Linked DNA regions of Homo sapiens: all the other regions are linked to region 2. The links are contacts of gene promoters, found by promoter capture Hi-C in blood cells and fetal thymus (Javierre and others, 2016). All regions are on one chromosome and are shown on one strand. Each heading gives the region's core, a stretch centred on a gene start or on the middle of the fragment in contact. The rest is flanking DNA. Distances are from core to core; before and after follow the strand shown.

The links. The method cuts DNA at HindIII sites, captures the fragments that hold promoters and counts their contacts. A CHiCAGO score of 5 or more calls a contact.
Region 1: a fragment that was not itself captured here is called in contact with the fragment with the promoter of CATSPERT in region 2 in 1 of 17 cell types (endothelial precursors); the score reaches 6.3 in endothelial precursors.
Region 3: a fragment that was not itself captured here is called in contact with the fragment with the promoter of CATSPERT in region 2 in 1 of 17 cell types (endothelial precursors); the score reaches 5.2 in endothelial precursors.

What each region holds. Positions count from the first base shown.
Region 1 is chr2:201,394,229-201,398,140 of GRCh38, forward strand. TRAK2 (trafficking kinesin protein 2) reads right to left here. Exons shown (of 16, transcript NM_015049.3): 7 at 3,274-3,352; 8 at 1,086-1,216; 9 at 570-644. Among named protein-coding and RNA genes, the nearest start is that of FLACC1, 39 kb to the left of the region's middle. The HindIII fragment of the contact is 1,727 bases long and covers 603-2,329 here.
Region 2 is chr2:201,617,485-201,621,307 of GRCh38, forward strand. CATSPERT (catsper channel auxiliary subunit tau) reads right to left here and starts at 1,694. Exons shown (of 16, transcript NM_001168221.2): 1 at 1,416-1,694. The coding sequence starts at 1,646. It overlaps TMEM237 (transmembrane protein 237), which reads right to left. Exons shown (of 13, transcript NM_001044385.3): 13 at 2,702-3,823. The HindIII fragment of the contact is 11,514 bases long and covers 1-3,823 here.
Region 3 is chr2:201,362,826-201,366,861 of GRCh38, forward strand. It overlaps a transcript of FLACC1 not described here. Among named protein-coding and RNA genes, the nearest start is that of FLACC1, 7.5 kb to the left of the region's middle. RefSeq lists an enhancer at 1,042-1,091. The HindIII fragment of the contact is 842 bases long and covers 1,859-2,700 here.

The DNA.
Region 1 (3,912 bases), core at 216-2,715, 220 kb before region 2:
AGTGATATACTCCTAAAGAATCTTATAAAGTTGAGGTTTTCCCTATTAATCAAGAAGGATGTTACCACGTTACTAGTTTTAGGGACAGGACTTTTAAAATGCTTTATTCTTTTTCTTTCTTTTTTTTTTTTTGAGACGAAGTCTTGCTTTGTTGCCCAGGCTGGAATGCAGTGGCACATCTGGGCCCACTGCAATCTCTACCTCCTGGGTTCCAGTGATTCTCCTGCTTCGCCTCCTGGGTAGCTGGGATTACAGATGCCCACCACCATGCCCAGCTAACTTTTGTATTTTTATTAGTGATGGGGTTTCACCATGTTGGCCAGGCTGGTCTTGAACTCCTGACCTCAGGTGATCCACCCACCTCGGCCTCCCAAAGTGCTGGGATTACAGGCGTGAGCCACCACAACCAGCCAAAATGCTTTACTTCTTAGATCTCATAATATCATCTTAACCTTTTGTTGTTGTTTTTTAAATCTGGTAATTCCCCTTTAATAATTCTTATTCATGAAGATGAAAGAAACTAGTCACTCTTTCCCCTCCTGAATTACACAAGATAAAGATTTCATTACCTCCATTGTCAGTTGCCGTTGGGCATCTTTGGAAGCTTGCAGGTGAAGTTTTAGTTCTTCCTTCTCAATCACATGCTAACAACATATTAAAAAAGACATGTGAAGCCTTTCCAAGTAAAATATAGCTATTCTCTTTCTTATAAAGACATGTGAAGAATTTCTCTCTGGGGTATCATCTTAAAGCCTACAAAAAGCTAACCTTTCAAAAGCTAAATAAGATAGGCATTCGAATACAAAATCTATCAAGGTGTTCAGAGGACAATGGGCATGAGTCAATAATTTACACCACTTTCTGAGGAAGCACTAACCCCATTTTACAAAGAGAAATAATGACTTGAAAGTATTTATTCATGATATCTTATATGACATAAAGATGATTAAAACAGCAATCAGATTAGGGCATTTTAAAAGGGCAGGGACAATGTTTATTTTGTTTATTGTATCTAGCACTTAGCATGGTGCAAGATACTATGTGAGTGCTTAACAAATATCTGTTGAATGAATGAATAAACCTACTTCTTTAAGTTTGTGCTGAAGGTCTACAATCTGTGACAAAAGAGAGGAAAGCTCTTCTTGGTATCGAATCAGCTCATCACTCTTCCCTGACAATTCTTCAGTCATTCTGGACATCTGAGCATTTGTTTCACCTTGGAAGCAAAAAAAATTTTTTTAAATTAATACAAATGTAGAGAAGGAGTTGGCAAACTATGACTTGTGAGCTAAATCTTGTTTTATAACAAGCACTGGACTGTCGTGAATAGATTTTTCTTAAACATAAAAAAAAATCCAGAGAAACCAATAGAGAAAAATAAAAGTTCTTCTGAAATAGGCAAATGCTGGGAACAGAATAGGAGACAATGAAGCTAAAAAGAGAGACGACTTATAAAGGCAAGCAGGCTAAAGGTTTTGCTTCAATCGTTTTCTTTATGAAAACGATATTTGCTCAATCTTTTTCTTTATGAAGGAAAGAAGGCTGAAAGGAGGGCAAGTGCAAAGAGATAATCTCATTCATTTCTTTGAGAACTCTTTAGGGACATAAAATCCCACAAGCAATGAAAATTAATCTTAACAAATCTAACAAAGGAACATTTCCAGAATGGAACAGTCACAATCTATAACAGAATGTGATAAAGCTACGGAAATGCTTCTGTAGGAGACAGACTTTCTGGCATACCCCTTTCAGGGATATGTGGCAAACTGAGTAAAGCCTCTAGAGCAATTGTTATAGCCTGGCCTTCTTACATGCACATAAAATAGAGCCTTTAGAATTCCACTAGGAATTTATTCACTCTCTATCTCATATGAAAAATTTGACATGTAAATACAAGCAGAAAAGCTACTTCTCAGTGTCATGTAAAGCTATTTTAAAATTGACAGATAGCCTCTAATATTTCAAAGGATGGCGATACACAGGCAGGAGATCTGGATCTGAGAGCTCTTGGGCAAGTCATTTCCTGTATTTTAAAGTGTAAAAGGTGGGTAATGTTTTCATGGTGGAGGAGAAAATTCAATTTACATTCCTTCCGGTTCTCTAGTATTCTGCTATTCTAAGATATCACATTTTGAAGCCCATAGCCCAAATGAATTGATGTGATATTTTCATATCATTGTTTTCAATGTAAAAGGCTATATACAGTAGTCCCCTCTTATCTGTCGGGAATACATTCCACGACCTGCAGTGGGTACCTGAAACCACAGATAGTACTGAACTCTATACTGTATATATTATGTGTTTTCCTACAAATAAATACCGATGATAAAGCTTAATTTATAAATTAGGCACAGTAAGAGATTAATAACTAATAATAAAATAATTATAACAATATATCAGCACACTTTGGGGCCATTACTAAGTATAATAAGGGTTACCTGAACACAAGTACTGCAATATTGCGATAGTTGACCTGGTAACTGACGGCTACTAAGAGATGGTTACTAAGTGACTGAAGGCAGGTAGTATATACTGCGTGGAGATACTGGACAAACGGATGATTCATATCCTGGGAAGTATGGAGTAGGATGGCACAACATTTCATCACGCTACTCAGAATGGTTCGCGATTTGAAACTCATGAATTGTTTATTTCTGGAATGTTTGATTTAATATTTTCAGACTGCAGTTGGCCACGGTTAACAGAAACAATGAGAAGTGAAACTGCAGGTAAGGGACAACTGTTGTATTTATGGAGAAATTAAATTTATCTTTCTCCAGTGAAGCCAATCTTTTTCCAACTGACTTGTTTTAAAAAATTGGTTAACATTACCTCAAACTAAAACACATTCCTTTAAAGAAACATAACTGGCACTTTATACTCATTGATTGTTAGGTTTTATGCCATCATTTAAGCCCTGGCTCTGCCACTTACCAGTTTTCTGACTTTGGCATATCATCTTCCTCTACAGGACTATTTCCTCATCAACAATATGAGAGCTTTGGTTCCTTTCACTCTAACATGCTATAACTTACTTACAAAACATAGGTCTGTAATGATAATTGCAATTTGAAACAAATATATTTCTTAAAAATACATATGGTATCTTATTTAGGGTTGTAGGCTCAATGTGATATTCTAAGATTTTCAGTAACCATTTAAAATTGTTTCTTGAGATGCTTCTACTGAAACCAGTGATCTAACTTCCGAGGTGGAGATACCCTACCAAAGAATTGTCCAAAAAGGTACAAAAGAGAATATGTTAATACTCACGAAGTTCTTTAACACAGTCGCTGACAAGCTGTTGTTCCTTTTCTTCATAGGTAACAGTTTCTGTCTTTATGTGACAAGCCTTCAAGAAAAAAATCAGTATGTGACAATACCTTCTAGTGATTTTATAGAAATAACTACAAAAACCTTTAATTCTCATTTGAAGACTAAATTTCATCACTTACAAAGGAAAAAACCCAACAACCTGTTCATACATCTCTACCTGGCTCATCCCTGGCCTTGGCTAAAATGATCCTTGCTTAAGTAGGACTTCCTTGATGCCCATACTATACAAGTTCACAGAATATTGTGATTTTCTGAGATAGTTCTTATCACAGTTGTAACTACTTAGTTACTTGTGTAAAAGTTATCACAGTTGTAACTACTTAGTTACTTGCGTAAACTCCACAAGATACATTTTCTATCCTGTGACTTTCACTATTGTACTGTCAACCTGCTACTATCCACTTTTCAGTGGGATCTAAGAACAGTGGAAGGCAAGAAAAATACAGCTCCTTGTCCACGACTCTCTAATTGGAATGCCAATAGCAAATCCTTACTTATGCCATATTTCACCTCAATAGTACCTGGACCTGAACTTTATAGCCTTTAAAGTAAAGGAAAATGGCAATTAGGTTGAAC
Region 2 (3,823 bases), core at 444-2,943:
TGGGAAAACTGGCTCGCCATACGTAGAAAGCTGAAACTGGATCCCTTCCTTACGCCTTATACAAAAATTAATTCAAGATGGATTAAAGACTTAAATGTTAGACCTAAAACCATAAAAACCCTAGAAGAAAACCTAGCCAATACCATTCAGGATATAGGCATGGCCAAGGACTTCATGACTAAAACACCAAAAGCAATGGCAACCAAAGCCAAAATCGACAAATGGGATCTAGTTAAACTAAAGAGCTTCTGCACAGCAAAAGAAACTAGCATCAGAGTGAACAGGCAGCCTACAGAATGGGAGAAAATTTTTGCAATCTATCCATCTGACAAAGGGCTAATATCCAGAATCTACAAAGAACTGAAACAAATTTACAAGAAAAAAACAAACAACCCCATCAAAAAGTGGGCAAAGTATATGAACAGACACTTCTCAAAAGAAGACATTTATGCAGCCAACAGACACATGAAAAAATGCTCATCATCACTGGCCATCAGAGAAATGCAAATCAAAACCACAATGAGATACCATCTCACACCAGTTAGAATGGCAATCATTAAAAAGTCAGGAAACAACAGGTGCTGGAGAGGATGTGGAGAAATAGGAACGCTTTTACACTGTTGGTGGGAGTGTAAACTAGTTCAACCATTGTGGAAGACAGTGTGGCGATTCCTCAAGGGTCTAGAACTAGAAATACCATTTGACCCAGCCATCCCATTACTGGGCATATACCCAAAGGATTATAAATCATGCTGCTATAAAGTCACGTGCACACATATGTTTATTATGGCACTATTCACAATGGCAAAGACTAGGAACCAACCCAAATGTCCATCAATGACAGACTGGATTAAGAAAATGTGGCACATATACACCATGGAATACTATGCAGCCATATAAAAAGGATGAGTTCATGTCCTTTGTGGGGTCATGGATGAAGCTGGAAACCATCATTCTCAGCAAACTATCGCAAGGACAGAAAACCAAACACTGCATGTTCTCACTCATAGGTGGGAATTGAACAATGAGAATACTTGGACACGGGGGGGGAACATCACACACCACGGCCTGTCGTGGGTTGGGGGGAGGGAGGAGGGATAGCATTAGGAGATATACCTAATGTAAATGACGAGTTAATGGGTGCAGCACACCAACATGGCACATGTATACCTATGTAACAAACCTGCACGTTGTGCACATGTACCCTAGAACTTAAAGTATAATAAAAAATAAAAAATAAAAATAAAAAAAAGGAATTGCTATAAACGAAAAAAAAAAGGATTAAAGGGTTCAATGTGTGCCAATTGAAGGGAGATGCAATTGGCACACATTGAACCCTTTAATCCTTTCACCACCCTCCAGGTGCCCTGCTGGCCCCGGTCCTCCAGGTGCCGGCCAGGCCCCCGCTCACTCACGTTCAGCAGCCGGTGCCCGGTGCCCTCCTGGTTCTTGTTCTTAGGCAGGGCCGTCGTGCCCTGGTTCAGGGCGTAAGGGACCGAAGAAGCCTCCGACCCTTTAATGTGCATGATATCCGGGCTGCTGTAGGGATTCCTCTGCAATAGCGGGGTGGCGGACAGGACTTGGACCTGCCCGCTGCGGTTATCAAGTGTGCTGAAAGGCCTATTTGTCTCTTGGGGTGGCTCCATCTCTCCATCTTCTGCGGCCTGTCTGCGCCCAACCGACGGCCCGCTACTGCGCAGGCGCGGCCCTCCCGCAGCCTTTCTCACATTTTCCCAGCGCGTGCGTGCCGCCTAGTGACCCACTCAGGCCGGGCCCATGCTGGGAGTGGCTGGAGGCAGCTTTGGAAGCATGCGTGCTTAGCGAGCCTGGAGGGTCTGCTGCAAGCACTTGCCAGGCCATTTCAGTCTCCTTTAGAAGGAAATCAGAGCACGCTGGTGGAGAGCAAGGCCCCTCATGGGGCCCAACCACTTTAGTTCACTGTCTTGTCCGCCCTGTAGCCCTCACGAGTCCTTTTCTCCCTGCACCATTTCTTTCTAGAAGATTTACAGTGTCAGTCATTACTTCCTCTACACTGTCCCGTGAGCTCCAGACGTTAAATATCCAACAGTCTACTTTGACATCTTTACCCAATTGTTCCACAGACACATAACACGTTAATATTCATCTTCCCTCTTAAACCTCTAGTAGGTTCCAAACTCATTTGGTGCAGCAATGTCATATCCACAAAATCTTAAACATTCAGACACATTTTAAAATTCTGACCCTAAATATCTGAATCTTACTTACCTTTTCCCTTTATGGCACCTAATTTGGGACAACACACACACGAGACAATTGCAATGATTTACTCATGGGTCTGCCAACCTGCTGTCATCCATCCCTTTCACTGCCCCCGTATTAGTCCTTTGCAGTAACGAATGGAGCTGAAGGCCATTATCCTAAGCAGACTAACACAGGAACAGAAAACCAAATACCACGTTCTCACTTATAAATGCGAGCTAAACAATGAGAACACATGGACACAAAGAGGGGAGCAACAGACACTGGGGCCTACTTGACGGCGAAGGGTGGGAGGCGGGAGAGGATCAAAAACTACCTTTTGGGCACTAGGCTTATTACCTGGGTGATGAAATAATCTGTACACCCCCATGACACAAAATTTACCTATATAACAAACCTGCACATGTACCCTTGAACCTAAAAGTTAAAAATATAAATAAATGCAAACAGAACAAAACCAGAGAATTCCAGAACTTCTTTATTGTACATAAAAATCTGAATTTCTTAATATGGAAACCAAAGGTCTGCAAAATGTACTCTCCTAGCTCAGGATCATTATTTATTCCTCTTATTTTTGGAATCTATTCTTCTTTTATTCAAGGACCAACTCAAAGGTCAGCTTTTAGTTAACTCTTATATCCCCATACACATATCCTAAAGGCAGAGTTAACTGCTATATCCAAGCTACTTCTTGGCATATCCTTGTCAGCCTAAATAACAGAGAGGGAGACTCTCTGAAAGAAAATGATGTTTATTCAGGAGTAGGCATTGCAATAAGAATACAAGTGCCACAGTAAACTATGTGCATATACAGGGAGGTCAAGGAAGACAACGGTTTTTAAAGCAAAAATGATTGTTTTGAGAGAATTATCCTTGGCTACAAGGATCAATAACAAGGATGTTGCCAGTTGGACATTGGACAGGGAGTTGCTGGGCAAATGTCCTCATAGAAGTATTTTTTGTGTGTGTCAGGTTGTGATGGCCTTTGTGCAAGGTGTGGTTTTGTGCAGTCTTTTAATGATAGTCCTCATTATCAGACATCTGTGCATGAAAATCGTCCTTTCACGGCCTTCCCCAGCTCTATTTGTTAGGATTTTTAACACAATGACCAGAACTTGATTTTGACAACTTTCACATCCTATTAGTGGGCTCACACTGTTAGTTGCTAATCTCAAAAGATAGAGTTCTTTAGGGGCAGGAACCTGCACCTCACCTTGTGCTCCTCAGAGTACATGGCCCAATATCCCAAGGCCCTTAACACATTTGTCATTATTTCAGATTTATACTATGTGGTGTGTTAATTACTGCACCCCATGAAACTTGCTGTCCAGCAGCTCACTCTGTTCTTAGGGTTCATGTTATGCAACATAAAGTACACAGCATCACAGATGAAGTCATATTTTTTTAAAAAATCTAATCAAACCACCAGACCTAACCTCCAGTCTATAGGAAATTCAGGAGATTGAGGAACAAATTAAGTGATGTCATTAGGAAAAAGTCAGACAATTAAAAAATGTAGGTGAGGCACTCTAAAGCAACTAGCTTGGACTCTTCAAAAAATTGTCATGGGAAATTAGAATGG
Region 3 (4,036 bases), core at 1,030-3,529, 250 kb before region 2:
TTGGAGCACCTGCTCTGGCTTAGGGTAGGAGTCTCCATAGCCAGAACTGTGCAAAGAGCCTCAGTAGTAGGTGCAGGGATTGTGCTCTCCCGCTTTGCAGGCCTGAGGTGGGAGGAGAGCTGCTACAGCTGCAGTTTCTCCTGTGTGATGAGACTTGCAGCCAGGGCTAGCTTGGTAACCTGGAACTAGTCTGCATATGTCATTGCAGGGTGACCCAGCCTGCTCCCCTGAGATTGTGGTGCAGCAGAGCCCTCTGCTCCACCCTCAGGCAGAAATCCAGGCATTTGGAGCACTTGCTTGTCTGGACCAGCAGCCTGAGCTGCCTCACCCTTCATGGACATAGATTGTGGTACAGCGTGGCTCTCTCTGCTCCACACCCAGGCAGATCTCCAGGTATCTGGAGCACCCCCTTCCTTGGATCAGCAGCCTGAGTTGTCCTACCTTTCCTGTGTATAGATTGTGGTGCAAGGGTGCCCTCTCCACTCCAACTCTAGGCAGATCTCCAGGCATTTGGAGCACCTGCTCACATGGACTAGCAGCCTGAGTGCCCTACCTTTCCTGTGCAGAGATCTGGGTGTGGGAAAGCCCTCTCCATTTTGCACCCCGGCAGATCTCTAGGCATTAGGTGCACTTGCTCATCTGGTTCAGCAGCCTGAGCCGCTGCCCCTCCCCATTCCAAGACATAGATCATGGTGCAGCAAGGCCCTCTCTGCTCCATGACCAGGCAGATCATCAGGCATTCGGAGCACCCATTTTCCTCGATCAGCAGTCTGAGTCACCCAAACCCTCCTACGCAGAGGTCTTGGTATGGGGGGCCCTCTCTCCTCCATGCTCAGGCAGATCTCTAGGCATTTAGAGCACTCACTTGCCTGGAACAGCAGCCTGAGCACCTCACCCTTCCTGTGCATAGATCCTGGTGCAGTGGGGCTCCATGCCTAGATAGAGCTCCAGGCATCTGGAGCAGTCACTCTACTGGATTAGTTTAAGCCGCCCCCATCCCTTTGCAGGGAACTTGGGGTCGAGGAAATTTCCCAAGCATCTCTGGGTGCTTGGTAGTGGCTACCCACTGCATTCTCCCTCAGTGCTGGTACTTGTACCTGCCATCAGGGGACCTGTAGTTGGACCTGCCTAGTCCAGCTCTGCTCATTTTGGCCCCTCCCTCCCTGTGTCTGAGCAGGGAGCTCAGACCACTATGCACCCCATGAATCAGCTCATTGCCTGAGGTAACAGAGCTTTTCCCCATAAACAAGGATCAAGTATATACTCAGTCACATTGGCCATAGCAGGCTCTTACCTATTAGCACCATCTACTGGTTTGTAGGTTGAACTGCACAGCCCAGTATAAAACCTGCTGACAGAAGTGAATAGGGTTATAGAAGCAAAGCCAAAAGACCCTACCCAGCATTCTTTATAGTCACACTCCCTAGAGAGGGGGGAAAAGGGAAAGGGAAAGAAAAAAAACCCCAATAATATTATAGGGACAGAAGGAAAAATAAATAATCCTAACCTATATGAAAATACTATAAAATTAAAATGCCAGCATCTCCAGATGAGAAGGAATCAGTGCGAGAATTCTGGCACCATGAAAAATCTCAATATAGTGACACCACCAAAGGATCAAACTTGCTCTCCAGCAATGGTCTATAGCCAAAATAGAAACTCAGAAAGAACGGATAAATAATTCAAAGCATGGATTACAAGGAAGATCAATGAGATCCAAGTCAAGGTTAAAAATCAACAACACAAAACTTCTAAAGCAATCCAGGAAATGAAGCAAGAGATAAACATCTTATAAAGAAATCAATCAGAGCTTCTGAAGTTGAAAAACTCACTCAGGGAATTTCAAAATACAATTGAAAGCTTTATCAATAGTCTGGACCTAGCAGAAGAAAGAATTTCAGAGCTTGAAGACTGATCTTTTGAGCTAACTCAGTTACACAAAAATAAGGAAAAAATAATTTTTAAAGGTGAACAAAGGCTTTGAGAAATATGGGATTATGTAAAACAACCAAACCTGTGAATTACTGGCATTCCTGAGAAGGAAAAAAGTGAACAACCTGGAAAACATATTTGAGGGAATAATTCAAAAAAGTTTCCTTAATCTTGCTAGAGGTAGACATCCAGATACAAGAAATCCAGAGAACACCTGCAAGATACCATACAACATGAGCATCACCAAGGTATATAGCCACCAGACTGTCCAAGGTCAATGCTAAAGAAAATATATATATATATATTTTTCAAGATGGAGTCTCACTCTGTCACTCAGGCTGGAGTGCAGTGGCATTATCTTGGCTCACTGCAGCCTCCTCCTCCTGGGCTCAAACGATTCTTTAGCCTCAGCTTCCTGAGTAGCTGCGACTACAGGTGCATACCACCACGGCCAGCTAATTTTTATATTTTTAGTAGAGACCGGGTTTTGCCATGTTGGTCAGGTTGGTCTTGAACTCCTGACCTCAAGTGATCTGCTGACCTTGGCCTCCCAAAGTGCTGGGATTACAGGTGTGAGCCACCGCGCCCAGGAGAAAACATTTTAAAGGCAGCTAGAGAAAAAGGTCGGATTGTGTACAAAGATAATGCATCAGGCTAACAATGGACTTCTCAGCAGAAACCTTACGTGCCAGGGGAGATTGGAAGTCTTTTTTCGGCATTTTTAAAGACAAGAAATTCCAGCCAAGAATGTCATATCCCTCCAAATTAAGCTTCATAAGCAAAGGAGAAAGAAAATATTTTCTAGATAAGCAAGAGCTAAGGGAATATGTTACCACCAGATCAGCTGTACAAAAGATTCTTAAAGGAGTTCAAAACACGGAGACGATAGAATGATATGTGCTATCACAGAAACACACTTTTAAGAACATAGCCCACAGATCCTATAAAGCAACCACACCACAGAAATTGCAAAACAACCAGCTAACAATCTCATGATAGAATCAAAACCTTGCATATCAATATTAACCTTGAATGTAAATGGTTTAAACACCTCACTTAAAAGGCACAGGGTGGCAAGTTGGATAAAAAAACAAAAGCCATCCATTTGCTACCTTCGACTGACCATTGTCACACATTAATAACATCCATAGGCTCAAAGTAAAGGGTTGGAAAAAGATTTACCATGCAAACAGAAAACAAAAAATGGGTAGGGGTTGCTATTCATATATCAGATAAAACACACTTTTAACCAACAACAGTAAAGAAAAGGACAAACGATAAAGAGTTAATTCAACAAGAAGACTTAACTACCCTAAATATATATACAGCCAACAATAGAGCAACCAGATTCATAAAACAGGTACTTCTAGACCTACAAAAAGACTTAGCCACACAATAGTAGTGGGGGACTTCAACACCACATTGACAGCATTAGAGAGATCACTGAGGCAGAAAACAACAAAGAAATTCTAGACTTAACTTCAACACTTGACCAATTGGGCCTAATAGACATCTACTGAATATTCCACCCATCAACCACAGAATATACATTCCTCTCATCTGCACACAGAACAGACTCCAAGATTGACCACATGCTTGGTCATAAAGTAAGTTTTAAGAAATTTAAAAAAAAAATCAAAATCATAACAACCATACTCTCAGACCACAGTGGAATAAAAATAGAAATCAGTATCAAGAAGACTGTTCAAAACCACATAAGTACATGGAAAATAAACAACTTGCTCCTGAATCACTTTTGGGTAAACAATGGAATTAAGGTAGAAATAAAAAAATTCTTTGAAATTAATGAAAACAGAAACAATATATCAAAATCTCTGGGATACAGCAAAAGCAATATTTAAGAGGAAAGTTTATAGCAGTAAACACCTACCTCAAAAAGTTAGAAAGATCTTAAATTAATGATCTAACATCACACATAGAGGAAACAGGAAAAGAACAAACTAATCCCAAAGCCAGCAAAGAAAAGAAATAAGTCAGAGCAGCACTGAATGAAATTGAGACCCCAAAATCCATACAAAGAATCAATGAAACCAAAAGTTGGTTCTTTGAAAAAAATAAACAAGACTGATAGACTGCTAGCTAA